2 separate regions of the Homo sapiens genome follow, and region 2 is linked to region 1. The links are contacts of gene promoters, found by promoter capture Hi-C in blood cells and fetal thymus (Javierre and others, 2016). All regions are on one chromosome and are shown on one strand. Each heading gives the region's core, a stretch centred on a gene start or on the middle of the fragment in contact. The rest is flanking DNA. Distances are from core to core; before and after follow the strand shown.

Region 1 (3,754 bases), core at 395-2,894:
CGCAGTGACTGTTTCCTTTCCAAATGAGCGCTCGCCGAAAGGGGCCGGGGGACAGAGGTGGACGGACTGCCGCGGGGCGCGGCAGGGGCGCGGGCTGCAGACCAGCCGCTATGGGTCCTGAGCCCCGCGCCCGCCCGACACCGCAGTGAACCGTGGCTGCCCTCGCCACCAGAGAACGCCTCGGGCATTAGCTCCCCCGTTCGGGAGAAAGCGTCTGGCCAGGCATTTTTTCCAGCTGGAGACCAGGCTGGTTCCCCAGCTTGGAGCCTCAGGCCTCGTCCTCCCCGAGAGCGCCTGGTGGACGCGGACCCGGCTGTGTCCCTCTCAGGGATCCGCCTCCCGCCGGGCTGAGCCCGAGCGCCTGGGTTCGTCGGGCGAGAAATCAGAGCCCAGAGCCGACCCGCCCGCTTATGCAAGGCTCCGGCGCCTGAAGTGACACACTTTTCTGTGGATTCCTTCAGGGATCTCCTTCCTCCGCTCTTAATGTCTTCGGACTATTCCCGCGCGCGTTTGGGGAGGCTGCGAGGGCCGCCGCGCTGGAGCCTAAAGGTAAGTCCCTTCCCGTCCTCTTCTCTCTCTCTTCTGACTTAAGAAAACGGGCGAATCCTTGCTACTTTTTTTTTTCTTTCTCCCCTTTGGTTCCCTTTCTCTGGTCTCCCTCTGATCTCTTCCTCCCTCTCCCTTTGCCTCGCACTCGTGATTGTGGACACCGGGACCACTGGACTCGGAGTTCGGCTCAGGGCTGCGGGCTCAGGGATGTGCGGGTTCTCAAAAGAGCAGCGGAGTCCGAGCCGAGTCCGCTGACGGGCTCACGAGCGCTGCGCCTATTGGCTCCCTGGCACGTCGGCGTCCCTCGCTCGCGCGGGCGCGGCCAATAGGGGCGCGGGGCCGGACGCGCGGCCTCGGTGGCGGGGGCGCGGGCCCGGCGCGGCGCGGCGCGGGGAGCGGCGGTAGTGGCCGTGACGTCACGGGAGGGGGTCGGCGCCGCCCGCCAGCAGCCGGATTACAAGCGAACGCGCCCGGCAGCGGCCGGAGTCGCCCGGCATCGCGTCTCCGCCGCTTCCTCCTTCTGTGCCTGCTCCTTCTCGTCGTCCTCCTCTTCCTCCTCCTCCTCGGGTTGCCGCAACCGCTGCGGCCGTGTCTGCCCCGCAACTTTCCAAGAAAGTTCAGAAACTCGGCTACGGGGCTGCCGAGTGGCGCGCGGCTGCCACCTCGGGAGCCGCGGGGGAGTTCCGAGGGCGCGCGGCCGCCCGGGCTTCGCGGTCGCTGCACCTGCCGCGTCCGCCGCCGCCACCGCTGCCGCCCGGTGCCAGGCTGTGGGCAGACCCCGGCAGCGGCGGCGGCGGCGGCTTTGGCGTAGCTTCCCGCCGCCTGCGCCTTCGCCTTCGCCTGCGCCTTCGCCTTCGCCTTCGCCTTCGCCTGGGTCCTCCGCGCCGCCACCGCCGCGCCACGTGCGCAGTCGTTCCTGGAGCGCAAGTTCCGAGTTTTCTCAGAAATTTTTTTAACTCCCCCCGCCCCCCGCATCTTTTTTCTTTCCACCCCTACTTTTTGCATAAAAGAAAAAAAGTTGTGTCGAAAGTATCCACAGATTGCCACTTCCCAATTACCCTTCCTTCTCTCCCCGCCCCACTTTTTTTTTTTTAAGCGGCGGCAACATTGTTTGGTGTTTATTTTGTTTTACGATCGATAGCTTTCTTCGCTGGTTCGGGGCGGCTGCTGAACGGCGGAGTGGCGTGGACCTCATGTAGCAATGACAATGGAAGGGGCCAGCGGGTCGAGTTTTGGAATAGACACGATTTTGTCCAGTGCCAGTTCAGGCAGCCCAGGCATGATGAATGGAGATTTCCGCCCGCTCGGTGAGGCCAGGACCGCGGATTTTAGGAGTCAGGCCACCCCATCTCCCTGTTCGGAGATTGATACCGTAGGGACGGCGCCTTCTTCTCCTATCTCAGTCACCATGGAGCCCCCGGAGCCGCATCTGGTAGCAGACGCGACCCAGCATCATCACCACCTCCACCACAGCCAGCAGCCGCCGCCGCCGGCCGCGGCCCCGACGCAAAGTTTGCAGCCTTTGCCCCAACAGCAGCAGCCGCTGCCGCCACAGCAGCCGCCGCCGCCGCCCCCCCAGCAGCTGGGCTCGGCCGCCTCGGCCCCCAGGACTTCCACGTCTTCTTTTTTAATTAAGGACATCTTGGGCGACAGCAAACCTCTGGCGGCATGTGCACCCTACAGCACCAGCGTATCCTCTCCCCACCACACCCCGAAGCAGGAGAGCAACGCAGTGCACGAGAGCTTCAGGCCAAAGCTCGAGCAGGAGGACAGCAAGACCAAACTCGACAAGCGGGAGGATTCCCAGAGCGACATCAAATGCCACGGTGAGTCCCGCCACCCGGCGCTCTCGGCCGTCTAGCTTGTCCTCCTGGTTCCCAATCTCCCCTTCAGCCTTCAGCAGATCTCTGCTGGGGAGCGATTCCAGGAGCTTCTCGGGCGACTGGGCGACGGTCAAAAGACTGCAGCTGAAGGGAGGCCTGGGCGTGCGATGTGGGGACTCCTCGAAGTTCTGTTTATTGTTCTACCCCACAACCTTCACGGCCATCCAGCTCCTTCCTTTGTTTTATTTAATTTTAATCTACTGGGGGTTGAGGGGCGGCGGAGGGCATCCGACAGGAAATACTTTTCGTTGATAAAAGGGATGGACTTGGGGTTTTTCTAGCCTAGACTTTGGGAATGGGAATGGGGGGAGGTAGGAGAGAGAAACCACTTAGCTAGCGTGGGTGTGATCACAACCTGGTGTTTATTCTTTAGTACAAGTGATTTCACCCCCCCCCCACTTTATTTTCTTAACATCATCACAGGAATTATCGGTTTTAATGGAGGAAAAATTTCTGAGTTCATGAACAGAGCAACTTTAAAAAAATTAGATTGTGGTTAGCCCGTAAAAATTTGTAATAAGTTTCTTAAAAGCACCCTTCTTACCCTATGGCCTCAACTGAGTATCTGTATCCTACAAAGATTTTTGGCCCCTTACAAGTACTTAGGAGGTAGTATTTATAAAAATAAAATCTTATGAAATTGGATTAATCTCTTTTTTGTTAAAAAAAAAATAAGATGACAATGGAAATTGTCCTTCAACTCCCTTTTTCCATTTTCTCATCAGACAATTTCATAAGTAAATGTGGTAGTCTTTGCATGGCAAAAGTTTTAACATACCAGGAGAGCTTTTTCTTCCTTTACAGACACATTGTTTATTATTATTGATCCTTGTTTTTCTGGTAAAGAAATGTACTGACTGGAAGGTAGGATGTTGGCTCCTCATTTTACTATTATAGCATTAGCATAATAGTGTCCAAAACAGATGTACAGTCTGGTCTGGCGATTTTTTGTGCACCAACCTCCCCAGTGGGTCAATTAGAGAGATTATTGTTCTTCCTGCAGGGAAGATCAAGGAGCACTGCACAAACGGGTACAAACAGGGAGGGATTGACATATCGATTTCCCAGCATTTCAGTAAAAAACCAAAGTTGACAAATAGAATCCGGAAATCTCCATGCTGTCACCTGGATGGGCTCAGTGATTTTGAGCTCAACTCGGTGTCTGGGTGACATATTCTTTGTGAAGCTTTAAAAGACCTGATGCAGGTGGCTTCAGAAAGCTTGATTCCAACATTTCCCAAGTGCATCTGAAAAAGTAAAACAAACACCTATAACTTTCAGAAAAGAGAAAAAAGTAAAATGAAAAAGATGCTGCCTCCTCA
Region 2 (3,953 bases), core at 522-3,021, 520 kb before region 1:
GAAGAATTCAACACGACAAGAAGTCAAATTTACTATCATACTGTTTTGATTCTCTTGGTGATGTGATAAAGTGCATGCTGATACCTGCTTTTTATTTTATTAACTTCAGCTTCTCTGAATGCCAACTTGTCCCATTAGAAGTCTTGACTGCAAAATATAAACTGGGTCTGATAATATCTGTGCCCTATGACTATGGAAAGAACATATAATCCACACCTGTGGTAGACAAAATAATGGCTCCTGAAGATGTCCACATTCTAATCCCAGAAATTTCATAAATATGGTACCTTACAATGGCAAAAGGGACTTTGCACATGTGAAATTAAGTATCTTGAGATGAGATTATCCTGGTTATCTGGACGGGCTCAATGTAATCACAAGGGTCCTTATAAGTGAAGGAGGGAGGCAGGAGAGTCAGAGTCGGAGAAGGAGACGTGACCATGGAGCAGAGGTCAGAGAGAGAATGAGAGAAGGAGCTAGAATTGAAGATGCTACATTGCTGGCCTTGAAAATGGAAGAAGGGCCACAAATTACAGAAAGAATGCAGTTCTGGATTTTGAAATCAAGCAACAGCCTTCATTTTTCACTCAGGGACACTGATTTTTGGACTTCTGGCCACCAGAACATAAATTTGTGTTGTAATCAATGCGTGCTGTTTAAAGCTGCTAAATTTGTGGTAATTAACTTGTTACAGCAGTAACAGAAACTAATACAATGTTTTTGGATTCATGGCACAGAGCTATATTCATATCATTTTCATTGGATTGAACTGACTTTCCCAAACTGTGTGATAATCCCAAACAGAACTATGACCACAACCCAGGGAGACCCTACAGCAGAAGATCTGGCTTTGCCTTTTTATTTGCAGCACAAGCTCACTTCACTTCTTTGTTCCCATATAGTTTCAGGCTTTTTTAAAAATGGAGTGCTAGTGGAAGTTTGTAAGTGTGGGAAGAAACCAGTCCTTTCGTGAGTTAATTCCTCTCTCCCAGGTTTTAAAACCCAAAGACACTGTCTCAAAAGATATTTACAACTATAAACAATGTCTTTTAATCACTTGGCTTCTGTTTTGTGCTCAAAAGTAAACAAGAGTGAACCACTTGGAGGATGAGGAGAAAGTTCACAAAGCCTTTAGAAGGTGGGTAAGTGTCTTCACCAAGAGTCACAAGCTGTGGATATGACGTTGGGCAGCTGATCAAAATTTCACATGGGTCTAAGGAGTTGAATAATATTAACATCTACTGTGCTAAGGAGCACTTGAATTACAGTAAGGAACATATGCATTATCCCATTGTCCCACACTTATACCAGTTTTCATTTGAGGAAATTAAAACTTAAGAAATGGCACTATTTGCACCGTTACCTATGGTGGACTCACTGTACATCTGACTCACTCTATACTTGAGTTGTTTACCACTATTGTATGTCCTTTCCCTTCTCCACATCAGAACCATAACAACTTGGAAAGTTTTCTATGTGACGTAGTCATGGCAGGTTCATTTTCTTGAGTTTCTAAGTGTGCTGCCTACCCAGGAAAATTCCTGAGAATGCAGGAGGAGTTTACTAGAGGAAACACATTATCACCAAGCAAAGTCCTACTGCCAAATGCAGGTAGCAGAGAATGGCTAGACAATGCAGGACAAGCTTGGCTTTTTCTGAAGTGCACTAGTTCTTATTGGCTCAATGGAAAAGCTTGATAACTGATGCCATGATGGTGACTTCATTAGAAGTAAGGCAGACAATGAAAATGAATATTTTGCACATTTTGATTCCAATCATTGCAATCGTCCCACTGAGGAAGAAAAGCTGAAGGAATTCATTGAGACAAATTAGGATAAACAACAAGCTTTCTGATAAGCATGGATAAAAAGTAGACAGGATGACAACATACCCAAGGTATTGGAGTAACTCAGCAAAACACACTGGGAATGAAGACTAATGCTCAGAACAAGATAAACATGCTAAAGAATGGCTGGGCATGGTGGTTCATGCCAGTAATCCCAGGAGCTTTGGGAAGCCAAGATGGAAAGACTGTTTGAGGCAGGAGTTTGAGATCAGCCTGGGCAACATAACAAGACGATATCTCTACAAAAAACAAACAAACAAACAAAAAAATTAAAAATTAGTCAGGCATGGTGGTAGGTACCTATGGTCCTAGCTGCTTGGGAGGCTTAGGTGGGAGGATTACCTAAGCCTAGGAGGTCAAAGCTGCAGTGAGCTACAATTGAGCCACTGCACTCCAGCTTAGGCAACAGAATGAGACTATCTCTTTAAAAAAATGCTAAAGAAAACATTAAATTCAGATCAGAAAGAGTTCTGGGGAGAGGAAGGCCCCACCTTGAAAATAATGATGGTAGGTTAACTTATAGCAACAATGAGGAAGTAGAACTTCTGTACTCCTATTTTACTACCTTTTTTCCCCCTTGGGGAAAGAAATGGCCCATCAGAGTTGAGTGGAAAGGGTAGAAATAATAAGGAATTGGAGGCCCAACTTGTTTAAGATTCCACATCTAAATCACTGTATCCCAAGGCATGGTAACATCATATTGATTGAGGAAACAGGTTTTGGAATCAGATAAATCGACTGTGTTCTCCTGGCAAATGGTTTAACAGCAATAAATTTCAGTTGTAAATACCTCGTAGGGCTAGGGTGATAATTCAGCTAAAGCAGTTTAACATAGCATCTGGGACATAATAAATACATGCTAGCTACTCATTTTATCATTTGGTATTTTCATTGACTAGCTGCAATGACATCAGTAATCTTTTAAAAATGGTGCCAAAAGAATAAATATCGTGAATAGTCAGTAAGACTAGAACTAATAATTTTAAAGATAGTTTTTTTAGTTTACAAAGTAAGTAATGATGCTAGGAATAGTATGAGTTCAGTAAGAAGAGGCCATACCAATGTAAGTAAATTTTCCTTTTTCTAAAGGGCTACTTAATGGAAATCAATAGAATTTTATGTACAGAGAGTATTCAGATTTCAGCATGACCAAGAATCTCATGAAAGAGTCTTGTGAAAGAACTGTGGGCTGCTTGTCACACAGAGAGGGATTTTTAACTTGCTGAATAACCCAAATGGTGCTAGTTAAGAAATATTCCAAATCAAGAAAAAATTTATTAGGAGGAATAACTTAGAGGGTGGTCCCTCAGCCCTAAATTTTTCAGCAGTTTCACCAGTGACTGTTATGCTGACATCTGTAGCATGCTGATCAATGAAATTATTGAGACAAAATTCAAATTCAAAATATTCTGAAATGGCTGAAACAATAGATCAAGTCTAACACTATGAAGTTTGTCCACAAAAAAGTCTAGTCTTTTACTTCGTTCCAGCATCAAACTGTATAAGCAGAGGATGGGGTACATGTCTTAGAAGCTTGTATTCTTTAAAAGTTTTACTCAAGAGCAAGGCCATGTCAACCTAAAATAATAAAAAAAAGGTCAGAATACAGTTTAAAGAGGATTTATTCAAACACAAAGGTTGAGAGATACATCCTGGGACACACTTCCAAGTTCCTTGGGACATACTCTGGAGAACAAAAGAGTGGTTCAAGGTTTCAAAGAAAAAAAAAAGAACAAATCAGGAGAAGGGGTGATTACAAAAAGTTATTTGTCAGTAATTGTCATTGGTTTACAAAAATAACATTGAGCGGTGATTGATTATACATTGATAAATTATAGCTGTATGTTATTTTATAGCTATTTGACATCAAGATGATCTAGGGCCCACATAACAAGTGTCTTCAAGACATAATTATTTAGCTCAAGGGGGAGTGAGACAGGACTGGTGTTACATTTTAAATGCCTTTCTGGGCCTGATAATGTAAAGGGGCTCATATTCCTCAGATAAAAGGGTTTTTTTCTTTTTATTTCCCCCCTTTTGATGAAAATCTTTCTTCTTGAAAGCACTTATGATCAAAATCTGACTGTCAAAGTGTCCCTTGTCACTG

Evidence for each region. The method cuts DNA at HindIII sites, captures the fragments that hold promoters and counts their contacts. A CHiCAGO score of 5 or more calls a contact.
Region 2: a fragment that was not itself captured here is called in contact with the fragment with the promoter of BARHL2 in region 1 in 1 of 17 cell types (non-activated CD4 T cells); the score reaches 5.1 in non-activated CD4 T cells.

What each region holds. Positions count from the first base shown.
Region 1 is chr1:90,715,192-90,718,945 of GRCh38, reverse strand. BARHL2 (BarH like homeobox 2) reads left to right here and starts at 1,644. Exons shown (of 3, transcript NM_020063.2): 1 at 1,644-2,375. The coding sequence starts at 1,751. The HindIII fragment of the contact is 6,796 bases long and covers 1-3,620 here.
Region 2 is chr1:91,232,229-91,236,181 of GRCh38, reverse strand. No RefSeq gene overlaps it. Among named protein-coding and RNA genes, the nearest start is that of HFM1, 170 kb to the left of the region's middle. The HindIII fragment of the contact is 154 bases long and covers 1,695-1,848 here.